Regions from separate parts of the Homo sapiens genome. Here region 2 is linked to region 1. Evidence: promoter capture Hi-C in human tissues and cell types (Jung and others, 2019). All regions are on one chromosome and are shown on one strand. The core of a region is centred on a gene start or on the middle of the fragment in contact, and the rest is flanking DNA. Distances in the headings are between cores, read along the strand shown. Region 1 holds the start of EPB41L5 (erythrocyte membrane protein band 4.1 like 5). Region 2 has its middle 22 kb from the start of TMEM185B.

The links. Contacts are between HindIII fragments. The study calls those that stand out against the background at their distance.
Region 2: a contact is called between a fragment that was not itself captured here and the fragment with the promoter of EPB41L5 in region 1, in 1 of the 25 tissues and cell types used here (spleen).

What each region holds. Positions count from the first base shown.
Region 1 is chr2:120,009,929-120,015,194 of GRCh38, forward strand. It overlaps EPB41L5 (erythrocyte membrane protein band 4.1 like 5), which reads left to right and starts at 3,149. Exons shown (of 25, transcript NM_020909.4): 1 at 3,149-3,282. LOC107985817 (a long non-coding RNA gene) reads left to right here. Exons shown (of 4, transcript XR_001739205.2): 2 at 219-373; 3 at 1,712-1,730; 4 at 2,465-2,776. RefSeq lists a silencer at 3,325-3,494. The HindIII fragment of the contact is 14,132 bases long and covers 1-5,266 here.
Region 2 is chr2:120,198,298-120,203,563 of GRCh38, forward strand. No RefSeq gene overlaps it. Among named protein-coding and RNA genes, the nearest start is that of TMEM185B, 22 kb to the right of the region's middle. The HindIII fragment of the contact is 3,485 bases long and covers 604-4,088 here.

The sequences.
Region 1 (5,266 bases), core at 1,899-4,398:
TCTACCCGCCTCGGCCTCCCAAAGTGCTGGGATTACAGGCATGAGCCACCGTGCCCAGCCCCAGTTCCATCTTTGATAGGAGATAGAAAAAAAGATTGAGCAGGATGGATGAAGAGGACACTGTTTTTCAAAACTGGTATGCTTTTCAACAATTTAGGAGAATAAGATATGTTTATAAGTATTGACAGAATTCACTTCCATTTCTGATCTGTAATCAGATAAACCAGAACTTTTCAAATGAGTAAACATCAGGTAAACATGGAAAGAGACAGTCTGGACAGGCTGAGGGGATGGCACTGAAGACCCTGCAGTTTTCCAACTGGCTAATCAGACCCCTGGGAAGAAGGAATGCTTTTCGGGGTACCTGGCCCAGGTGGGTTTGTTTGTTGTTTTTTGTTTTGTTTTGTTTTTAGACAGAGTTTCACTCGCATTGCCCAGGCTGGAGTGCAGTGCAGAGAAAGCAGCTCACTGAAACCTCCGCCTCCTGAATTCACGCGATTCTCCTGCCTCAGCCTCCTGAGTAGCTGGGACGGTTTTCACCATGTTGCTCAGGCCAATCTCGAATTCCTGAGCTAGAACTCTTGAGCCTTGGCCTTCCAAAATGCTGGGATTACAGGTGTCCAGGTGGTATTTTTTTAAATACTCTTTTTTTTTTTTTCAGACAGAGTCTCTGTCGTCCAGGCTGGAGTGCAATGGTGCAATCTCAGCTCACTGCAACCTCCACCTCCTGAGTTCAAAAGATTCTCCTGCCTCAGCCTCCCTAGTAGCTGGGATTACAAGCATGTGCCATCACACCCAGTTAATTTTTGTATTTTTAGTAGAGACGGGGTTTTACCATGTTGGTCAGGCTGGTCTCGAACTCCTGACCTCAAGTGATCCTCCTGCCTCGGCCTCCCAAAGTGCTGGGATTACAGGCATGAGCCACCACATTCGGTCTAAAGGACTTTATTATGAAAAATTTTAGATAGAATAGTTTAACGTCCCCATCACCCAGCCTCAGTTTATGGCCCATTCTTGTTTCATCTATACCATTGCTGCTTCCCCCTGCCATATCATTTCGTTTTTTTGTTGAGATAAAGATGCAAGATGACCAGCAACAATTCCTCCCATCCCTGAACACCCATGCTGCTCCTCTCATGAAGAGTGATGAAAATATTCCACAATTAGATTGTGGTTTGTGGTTCTACAACTCTGTGAAAATACCCAAAGCCATGGAAGTGTACACTTTAAGTGGGTGCATTATATCTCAATAAAGATGTTTTTAAAAGGTGGAGAAGGAAAATTTCTCTATTTTAATAATATTTAAAGAAAAAAAAAGAGGTAGAGTCTCTTTCATCTCCTTGAAACTGGGCGGCCTCTGTGATTTGCTTAAACCATTAACAGGCAGCAGAAGGGACGCTCCGTGACTGCTGGGCATAGCCCTTCATAGGCCTCAGAGCTTCTGTTTTCACTGTTTTGCCACACCAGCGGATCTGCAAGAGAGTAGCCCAGGCAGAACTCAGCTGTTCTTTGCAGCCACCCCAGCGGAGATGCCACACAGACCAGTGAAACCACCTTGGCAGCTCCAGCACCTGTTGAGCTGCCCAGCCAACACCACATGGGGCAGAGATGAGCTGCCAAGCCTGTCTACTACGTTTTGGGGTGGTGGAGGAGTGGGCAGTGCCAAATCCCGAGAAGAAGCTCAATGAGTATTTGTCTCTTTTCATTTCAGCAAGCAGAGGGTCCTCAAGGTAACACCTTCCAGTGGCTCCCCCACCTCTCTCAGAGCTCTAGCCAGGGCCCACAAGGCCCTACATCTTACCCCTTTCCTCTCTGACTGTCACCTCCTCTTCCTCTTGCTTCCTCACTTCTAGCCACACTGGACTTCCTTGAAAAGACAGACCTGTCCCCTTGCAGGGCCTTTTGCCCTTGCTGTTCCCTTCGGTTCTCCCCAGATGGCCACAGGGTTCCTCCCACACCTCCTCTAGGTCTTCATTCAAATGCTACCTTTTTTTTTTTTTTTGAGACTGAGTCTGGCTTTGTCGCCAGGCTGGAGTGCAGTGGCGTGATCTGGGCTCACTGCAACTTCCGCCTCCCGGGTTCGAGCGATTCCCCTGCCTCAGCCTCCTGAGTAGCTGGGACTACAGTCGGACGCCACCAGGCTCAGCTAATTTTTGTATTTTTAGTGGAGACGGAGTTTCACAGTGTTGGCCAGGCTGGTCTCGATCTCCTGACCTCGTGATCCGCCCGCCTCGGCCTCCCAAAGTGTTGGGATTACAGGAGTGAGCCACCGCGCCCAGCCAAATGCCACCTTCTTATTGTGACCTGCTATGTAAAATCGCAAACCCTCACTGCCTGTGGTTATTCCCTACTTGTACTTTTCTTTTTAGCATTTACCAATGTCTGACAGTATTTAATTTCACTAATTTATCTCGTTTATTTTATGTCTCGTTTATATTCCTGCTATAACGTAAACTCCGGGAAGGATTTTTGTCTGTCTTGGTTGTCTGTCGTATCTCGTGTCTAGAACACAGAACTCACAGTAAGTAGGCACTTCAATCAATTACCTGTAGAATGAACGGACTGAATGTCACCTTGTTAGAGTACCCTCCTGACCACACTCTGCTAAGCAGTAATCTTTTATTTCTCTTTCCCAGTTTTATTTTTCCTCATTTACACTTAATCACCTTGTGACACCTATTTGTTTACTGTTTCCCCAGTAGAGTGAAAGTCACTTTAACAGCAGAGATTTAAATGTATTTTAATCCCTACAAAGGAGAAAAAGGGAGGAAATACGTGACAGGCTCTCAATAAGTATTTGCGAAGGATTTAATCTCTTGAACGAATGGATGAATGAATCTAGCAGCCAGCTCCACCAGCCTCCTTCGTGATAGGACTAACTGGGGTCTGTCTGCGGACGGGCGCCTCCTCCGCGGGCGGAGGGCCGCAGCGGGAACTGGGTTTCGGCAGCGCCCCTTTAAACCAGCCGCGGACGCCCGGCTGCTGGCGCTAGTTCCAGCCCGGCCGGGCCCGGCCTCGCCGGTTTCTCTCCAGTCGCCGCGCCGGCCAATTTCCGGGGCGGTGTCATCGCCCGTTTAAGAGCGGAGCGCTCCGCCCTGGGGGCGGAGCTGGGAGGGAGCTTTAAGGGGTGGACGGGCGGGAGGTCGGGGTCCTCCGGGGATTAGAGCCGGTGGGCTCGTTGTGGGCGCCATTTCTCGGCGTCTACCGAGGAGCCGCCCCTTTCTCAGCCTTGCTCGGCTCTTCCCCGCTCTGGTCGCCGGGGCTGCGCCGTCCCCAGCTCAGGTAAGCGCGAGGCCCGGCGGCGGCGCCGCAGTACAGTCCGCTGCGCTCCTAGCCGAGTGGACCCTTCCTCGCCCGCGCCTGCGGTAGCGGCCTTGTCCCCGGGGAGGCGGGCGGGGGCCGCACCCAGACCCTAGGGCGGCCGGCCCCTCTCTCGTCGGGCCGGCAGGGCATTAATCCCGCCGGAGGGAGGGGCGGCGGCGGCCAATGAGGCAGGGCCGCCGAGTTTCGGTCGATACCGCGCGACGGGCCGGGGCGGAGGGCCCGGGGCAGCCGGGTTAATGTTTGCCGAGCGGACGCGCTCCCCGAGCCGCGGGTACCCCTCGCTGGTCCGCTGGGCTGCCGTCCAGCGGGAGAGACAAAAGTCGCAAGGGAAGGGGAAAAACGAACTGAGTTTGTGTCACTGTCTTGGTGGACTTTTCGAGCTAACCTGTATTTGAGAAAAACTTCAGTCTCTTGGGAAAGGAGAGGCAGGTGTGTTCCCATGAAAGACGAGGTCTGAAGGTCCCGCCCCGCCCCCACCCGGGACGGTTGTCGTGCTAATGATGGGTTCTTTGGTGTGTAAATGTTAATTGTGTCTGTGGTTACTCGAATTCTACCTAAGAGCGAGACCCAACTCTTAAAACGTTTGGCAATATTTTAGACTAATATTAAAAGTTTTTAAAGAATTACGGGGAAAATTCCCATAACCGTGTACATTTGTAATGTAACCCACAACTGCATTAACTCAGTTTCTAACATAACCCGTTGCTGAGCTCTAGTTAACCTTGTTGGATTATTTGTGCATGTAATATGCTGTGCAGGCTTTAGAAAATAGGTTAACATTATTCGAAAACGATATGCGTAACTGCTGTTGAATTACTCGCTTGCATTTTCTTTATTGGGAATACTGGGACAAAATATAGTGTTACCTTAAATGGCATTTGCTGTATGTTATATTGCTTTATCAAAAAGCAATTAACCAACCATATTGTGGCCACCAGTCATGTAAGAGTATACATATTTCATGACTAACTTTTGGGTTTTGGGTACTTTTTTTAACCAACTTCTGATAGGATTGCTTAAATTTGCATTTTATGATTCTAAAGGAAATCCTTCTAGTTAGGAACTAGAGTAGAAACTACTGTTTTTTGGAAGCCACATAAACCTACCATCCAAAAATTCCACTGTGTCATTCTAGTGTGTCAGGCGAGATGCGGGTTAAGCCAGCTGTTGGGCCAAAGTAGTGAACAAGCCAGACGAAGTCTTTGTCCTTGTGTGTGAGTGGGGGAAGTAGTCAGTAAAAAAGATAATAATTAACAGATATTTAATTACAATTTCTTTGTTATAAAGAAAAGGCTAAGAGTACTGAAAGAGATGTCGAATTTAGACTCACAAGTCTGAGATTGCTTTTCTGAGAATAAGACATTTCAACTATAAGTCTGAAGTTAGTCCAGTGAAATGGGAGCGGGTGGAAGAGAGGTCAACTGGAAAAAGAGCAATCCAGAAAGGTGGAACAGCTAATGAAAAATGGTCCAGAATTAAAAAGACTCTCCGGCCGAGCAGCAAGAGTACAAGAGCAGAGCAAACAGAGGGGAGTAGGCTGACAGATGGGTCAGGCAAGTAGGAGGAGCTGCATCTAGGACCAGGGCCATTAAAGATTTTAGAACAGGGATCAGATTTGTGGTTGCCAAAAATCCAGTGGCTGCAACATGAAGAGCGCAATTGGAAGAGTGCAGGTGGGAGGGGAAAAGTGAGTATGAGAAAACTTTTTTCACAATCATTAAAAAAAAAAAAAACCCACAACTTTTAGTGATCCATTCATATTATTTTTTTTTTCCATTAAAAAAAATTAGGCCAGGCGCAGTGGCTCACGCCTGTAATCCCAGCACTTTGGGAGGCCGAGGCGGGCGGATCACGAGGTCAGGAGATGGAGACTATCCTGGCTAACACGGTGAAACCCCGCCTCTACTAAAAAAAATAACAAAAAATTAGCCGGTCGTAGCGG
Region 2 (5,266 bases), core at 1,096-3,595, 190 kb after region 1:
AAACTTCTTCAACATGGCAAAAGCCATATATGAAATACCTAGAGCTAACATCATACTCAATGGTGAAAGACTGAAAGATTTTTCTCTAAGATCAGGGTCAAAACAAAGATGTGCACTTTACCACTGCTATTCCACGATGTACTGGAAGTTCTTGCCAGAGCAATTAGACAAGAAAAAGAAATGAAGGGCATCCAAATTGGAGAGGAAGAAGTAAAACTCAATTCGCAGATGAAAACTCCCATATATAGAAAATCCCAAAGAATCTATAAGAAAGCCACTAGCACTAATAAATGAATTCATCAAAGTTCAAGGGTACAAGATCAACACACAAAAATCAATTGTGGTTCTATATATCTGCAAGGAACAATCTGCAAATGAAATTTAGAAAATAATTGTACTTAATAATACCATCTAAAAGAATAAAATACCTAGAAACAAATTTTACCCAAAAGATGACTTTAACCAAGAAGATGAAAACTTACACAGTGAAAAATTTTAAAAATGGCTAAAAGAAATTAAAGAAGACCTAATGAAATGGAAAGACATCATATGGTCATAGGAAGATTTGATATTGTTGTCAGTACTACCCAATGCTATCTACAGAGTCAATGCAATCCTACTCAAATACCAACAGCGTTTTTGCAGAAATAGAAAAACTGATCCTCAAATTCATTAAAAAAAAAAAATCCCCGCAAGGCATTAAAACACACACACACACACACACACACACACACACAAACTTGAAGTTGCCAAAACAATCTGTAAAGGCAGCACAAAGTCGGACTCACACTTCCCAATGTCAGAACTTACTACAAAGCTACAATAATCAAAACAGGTTTGGCATAAGGATATATGGTCCAATGGAACTGAGAGTCCAGAAATAAGCTCATATGTCTATGACTGATTTTTGACATGAGTGCCAAATGGTGAAAGAACTATCTTTTCAACAAGTGGTACTGTGACAACTGGATTTCCACTTGAAAAAGAATGAGGTTGGCCTCTCCCCTACATGGTTCATAAAATCATGTAAATAAAATATTCATAGAATTATTGATCAATGGATCAACAATCTAAATATAAGAACTAAACTTGAAACACCTGGAAGAAAGCATAGGGGTAAATCAGGTCCTTGGAGCTGGCAATGGGTTCCTACATATGACACCAAAAGCATGAGCAACACCAACAAAGAAAAATTGGGCTTTATCAAAATTAAAAACTTTTGTACATGAACGGACATTACCAAGAAAAGTTAAAAGACAAAGTACAGATGGGATAAAATATGCAAAATATATAATTGATAAGAGATGAATCTCCAAAATACATAAAGAACAACGCTCAACAAAAAAAGATAAACAATCCAATTAAAACACAGGCAAAGGTCTTGAATAGACATTTCTCTAAAGAAGATATGCAAATGGCCAATAAGCACATAAAAGATGTCAATATCCTTAATCATTAGGATAATACAAGTCAAAACCACAGTAATACAACTGCATCATCTACTAGGATAGCTATACATTTTATTTTATTTATTTTATTTTATTTATTTTATTTTATTTTATTTTTGAGATGGAGTCTTGCTCTGTCGCCAGGCTGGAGTGCAGTGGCGTGATCTCAGCTCACTGCAACCTCTGCCTCCCAGGTTTAAGGGACTCTCCTGCCTCAGCCTGCCACATAGCTGGCATTACAGGCACGCGCCACCAGGCCCAGCTAATTTTTTGAATTTTAGTAGAGATCGGGTTTTACCATGTTGGCCATCATGAGGTCTCGATCTCCTGACCTCATGATCCGCCCACCTCGGCCTCCCAAAGTGCTGGGATTATAGGCGTGAGCCACCAGGCCCAGCCGCTATACATTTTAAAAAAGGAAAATGTTGATGAAGACATGGAGAAATGGGAAACCTCATACATTGCTGGTAGTAATGTAAAATGGTGCAGGTGCAGCCAGTGTGGGAAAGAGTTTGGCAGTTCCCTAAAAAGCTAAACATAGAATTTCCATATGATTCAGCAATCCTCCCCCAAAGCATATGTTCACTAGAGTTTAAAACAAGGACTCAAACAGATACTTGTAAGTCAATGTTCACTGCAGCATTATTCATAATAACCAAAAGGTAAGAACAACCCAAATGTCCATTAATGGATGGATGGATAAATATACAATGGATATACCACATGTACATCCTACAATGTGTGTGAATCTTGAGGACATTATGCTAAGTGTGATAAACCTTATACGAAATGACAAATACTCTATTATTCCACGTGTCTGAAATATCTAGAATAGTGAAATTCATAGCGATGGAAAGTAGAATAGAGGTTACCAGGGGTTGGGGAAGGAAGGGAATGGGAAGTTGTTGTTTGATGGGAACCCAGTTTCTGTGTGGGATGATGAAAGGGTTTAGAAGTGGATAGTGCTGATAGTCGCACAACAATGTGAATAGAATCAATGCCACAGAATCATACGCTTAAAATGCTTAAAATGGCAAATTTCATAATTATATATATACACACACACACACATACACACATATACATATATACATGAGTGTGTATATATAAAACTACTCGGCCAGGCACGGTGGCTCATGCCTGTAATCCCAGCACTTTGGGAGGCTGAGGCGGTTGGATCACCTGAGGTCAGGAGTTCGAGACCAGCCTGGCCAACAGGGTGAAACCCCGTCTCTACTAAAAATACAAAAAATTAGCTGGGTGTGGTGGTGCTCACCTGTATTTCCAGCTACACGGGAGGCTGAGGCAGAAGAATTGCTTGAACCCCAGAGGCAGAGGTTGCAATGAGCCAAGATCATGCCATTGCACTCCAGTCTGGATGACAGAATGAGACTCCATCTCAAAAAAAAAAAAAAAAATACACACACACAAGCACGCTTACAATGGTATGTGACCCAGTTGAGGCCAGTGAGATGGGAGAAACTGGCTAAGGGCTTCGGGGGAACATTTCCTCATTCCTAGTGAGAGCTGATGGATGAGACGTGGTCTCTCCTGTTTCTCTGGACCTGGTCTCTGGAACTGCTGCAGCCATCTTGTGAACAGACTGAGAATTAAGCCAACAGGGGGCCACAGACAGATAGATGTGGGTACCTGAGGATGTCATGGAGCTACTGGACAGCCTAGGAAACATGGTGAGACCTGTGTCTACTAAAAATCAAAAGCATTAGCTGGGCATGGTGGCATGCACCTGTGGTCCCAGCTACTTGGGATACTGAGGTAGGGGAATTGCTTCAGCCTAGGAGGTTGAGGCTGCAGTGAGCCATGATCACATTGCTGCACTCCAGCCTGAGCGACAGAGCAAGATCCTATGAAAAACAAAAACAAAAAAATGCTACTGGACCAGCGGACTGCTATGAAGTCAGTCCTATCTGGGCTTTACAGTTTCATGAGATGATTTTCTTATTTAAAAAAAAAGGAAGTGTTGGAGGCAATTAATAAAGAGCTCGGCCGGGGGCGGTAGCTCACGCCTGTAATCCCAGCACTTTGGGAGGCCAAGGTGGGCGGATCACGAGGTCAAGAGATCGAGACCATCCTGGCCAACATGGTGAAACCCTGTGTCTACTAAAAATATAAATAAAACTAGCCAGGCGTGGTGGCACATGCCTGTAGTCTTAGCTACATGGGAGGCTGAGACATGGTCTCTCCTGTTGGGGAGAGGCTGAGGCAGGAGAATCGCTTGAACTCAGGAGGCGGAGGTTGCAGTGAGCTGAGATCACGCCACTGCACTCCAGTCTGGTGACAGAGCGAAACTCCGACTCAAAAAAATAAATAAAAATAAAGAACTCAAAAAGTCCAACTCTTTCCTTAAGCTTAAAATAGATAATTTAGAAAAAAACCTGAAAGATGAGAAATCTAAATGTTTAGACAAATTGGTCTGATGTCTGACCTTACCAGATCAAGAAGATGAATGAAAACCTCCTATTTCAAGTAGCTGCAACCAAAGCAACCTTCAAAATCCATCAAAAGAAAGAGCAAGTGCACTTTGAGAGGCTGAGATGGGCAGACCACCTGAGGTCAGGAGTTCAAGACCAGCCTGGCCAACAGGGTGAAACCCCGTCTCCACTAAAAATACAAAAATTAGCTGGGCGTGGTGGTGCATCCCTGTAGTCCCAGCTACTCGGGAGGCTGAGGCAGGAGAATTGCTTGAACCCAGGAGGCAGAGGTTGCCATGAGCCGAGGTCACACCACTGCACTCTAGCCTGGGCAACAGAGTAAGACTCTGTCTCAAAAAAAAAAAAAAAAAGCAAGTGTAGACAACATTAGAAGATGCTTTGGAGGCCAAGTTCTTTCTTCAGGGAAGCCTGGCACTGCCCTCTGGCAAGGCCAAAGAATGGAGAGGAAGAATGAGCAAGCTTACGCCCCAGAAGGAATGGCTAGGAGGTAGGAGCTTGGGTTTAGATGTATCGAAGGAGAGATGACCTAGAAAATGAACCAAAAGCAGTTTTAAAAAAATATGTGTAGGCTGGGCGCAGTGGCTCATGCCTGTAATCCCAGCACTTTGGGAGGCCAAGGCGGGCGGATCATGAGGTCAGGAGATTGAGACCATCCTGGCTAACACAGTGAAACCCCATCTCTACAAAAAATACAAACAAAATTAGCCGAGCGTGGTGGTGGGCGCCTGTAGTCCCAGCTACTCAGGAGACTGAGGCAGGAGAATGGCGTGAACCCAGGAGGTGGAGCTTGCAGTGAGCCGAGATCGCACCACTGCACTTCCAGCCTGGGCAACAGAGCGAGACTCCGTCAAAAAAAAAAAAAAGTGTTGATGTGGCTGAGTTATATACTTATTTGAAAACTCTTAGGGGAAAAAAAGAAACTCAAGGAATACTAAATTAACTGAAGCAGCTAAAATAATGGATTGCTTCAAGACCACGTGAAAAAAAATCTCCAAACCGAGAAATCCATACTGCAGTCAGAAAAGCACAGTTAGAAGGGGAGGGGCAGAAACAATTCTGGCAGAAACTTCAAGTCCTTTCTGAACTCGTGAAAAAGAAATGAATTTTCACCCAATACTCAGTCTTTCCAAAGCAGCAAGCAGTCCCTGCATTCCCAGAGTGACTTTGGGGGAAGTCAGAAATTGCACAAGTGATTATGGTAAAGACTGAAGAGTGTTCCAGAAAGAGGACCTATAGGGCACCCCGCGGATGAAGTGCAATTATGTAACTTCCTAGCGTGCACGTCATGGATCATTACAGGGACCCGGGCACCTGGACAGGGCTGAGTGGCTCTGGGGCACCTTGTTTCTCTAGGCTGCAGGAAGC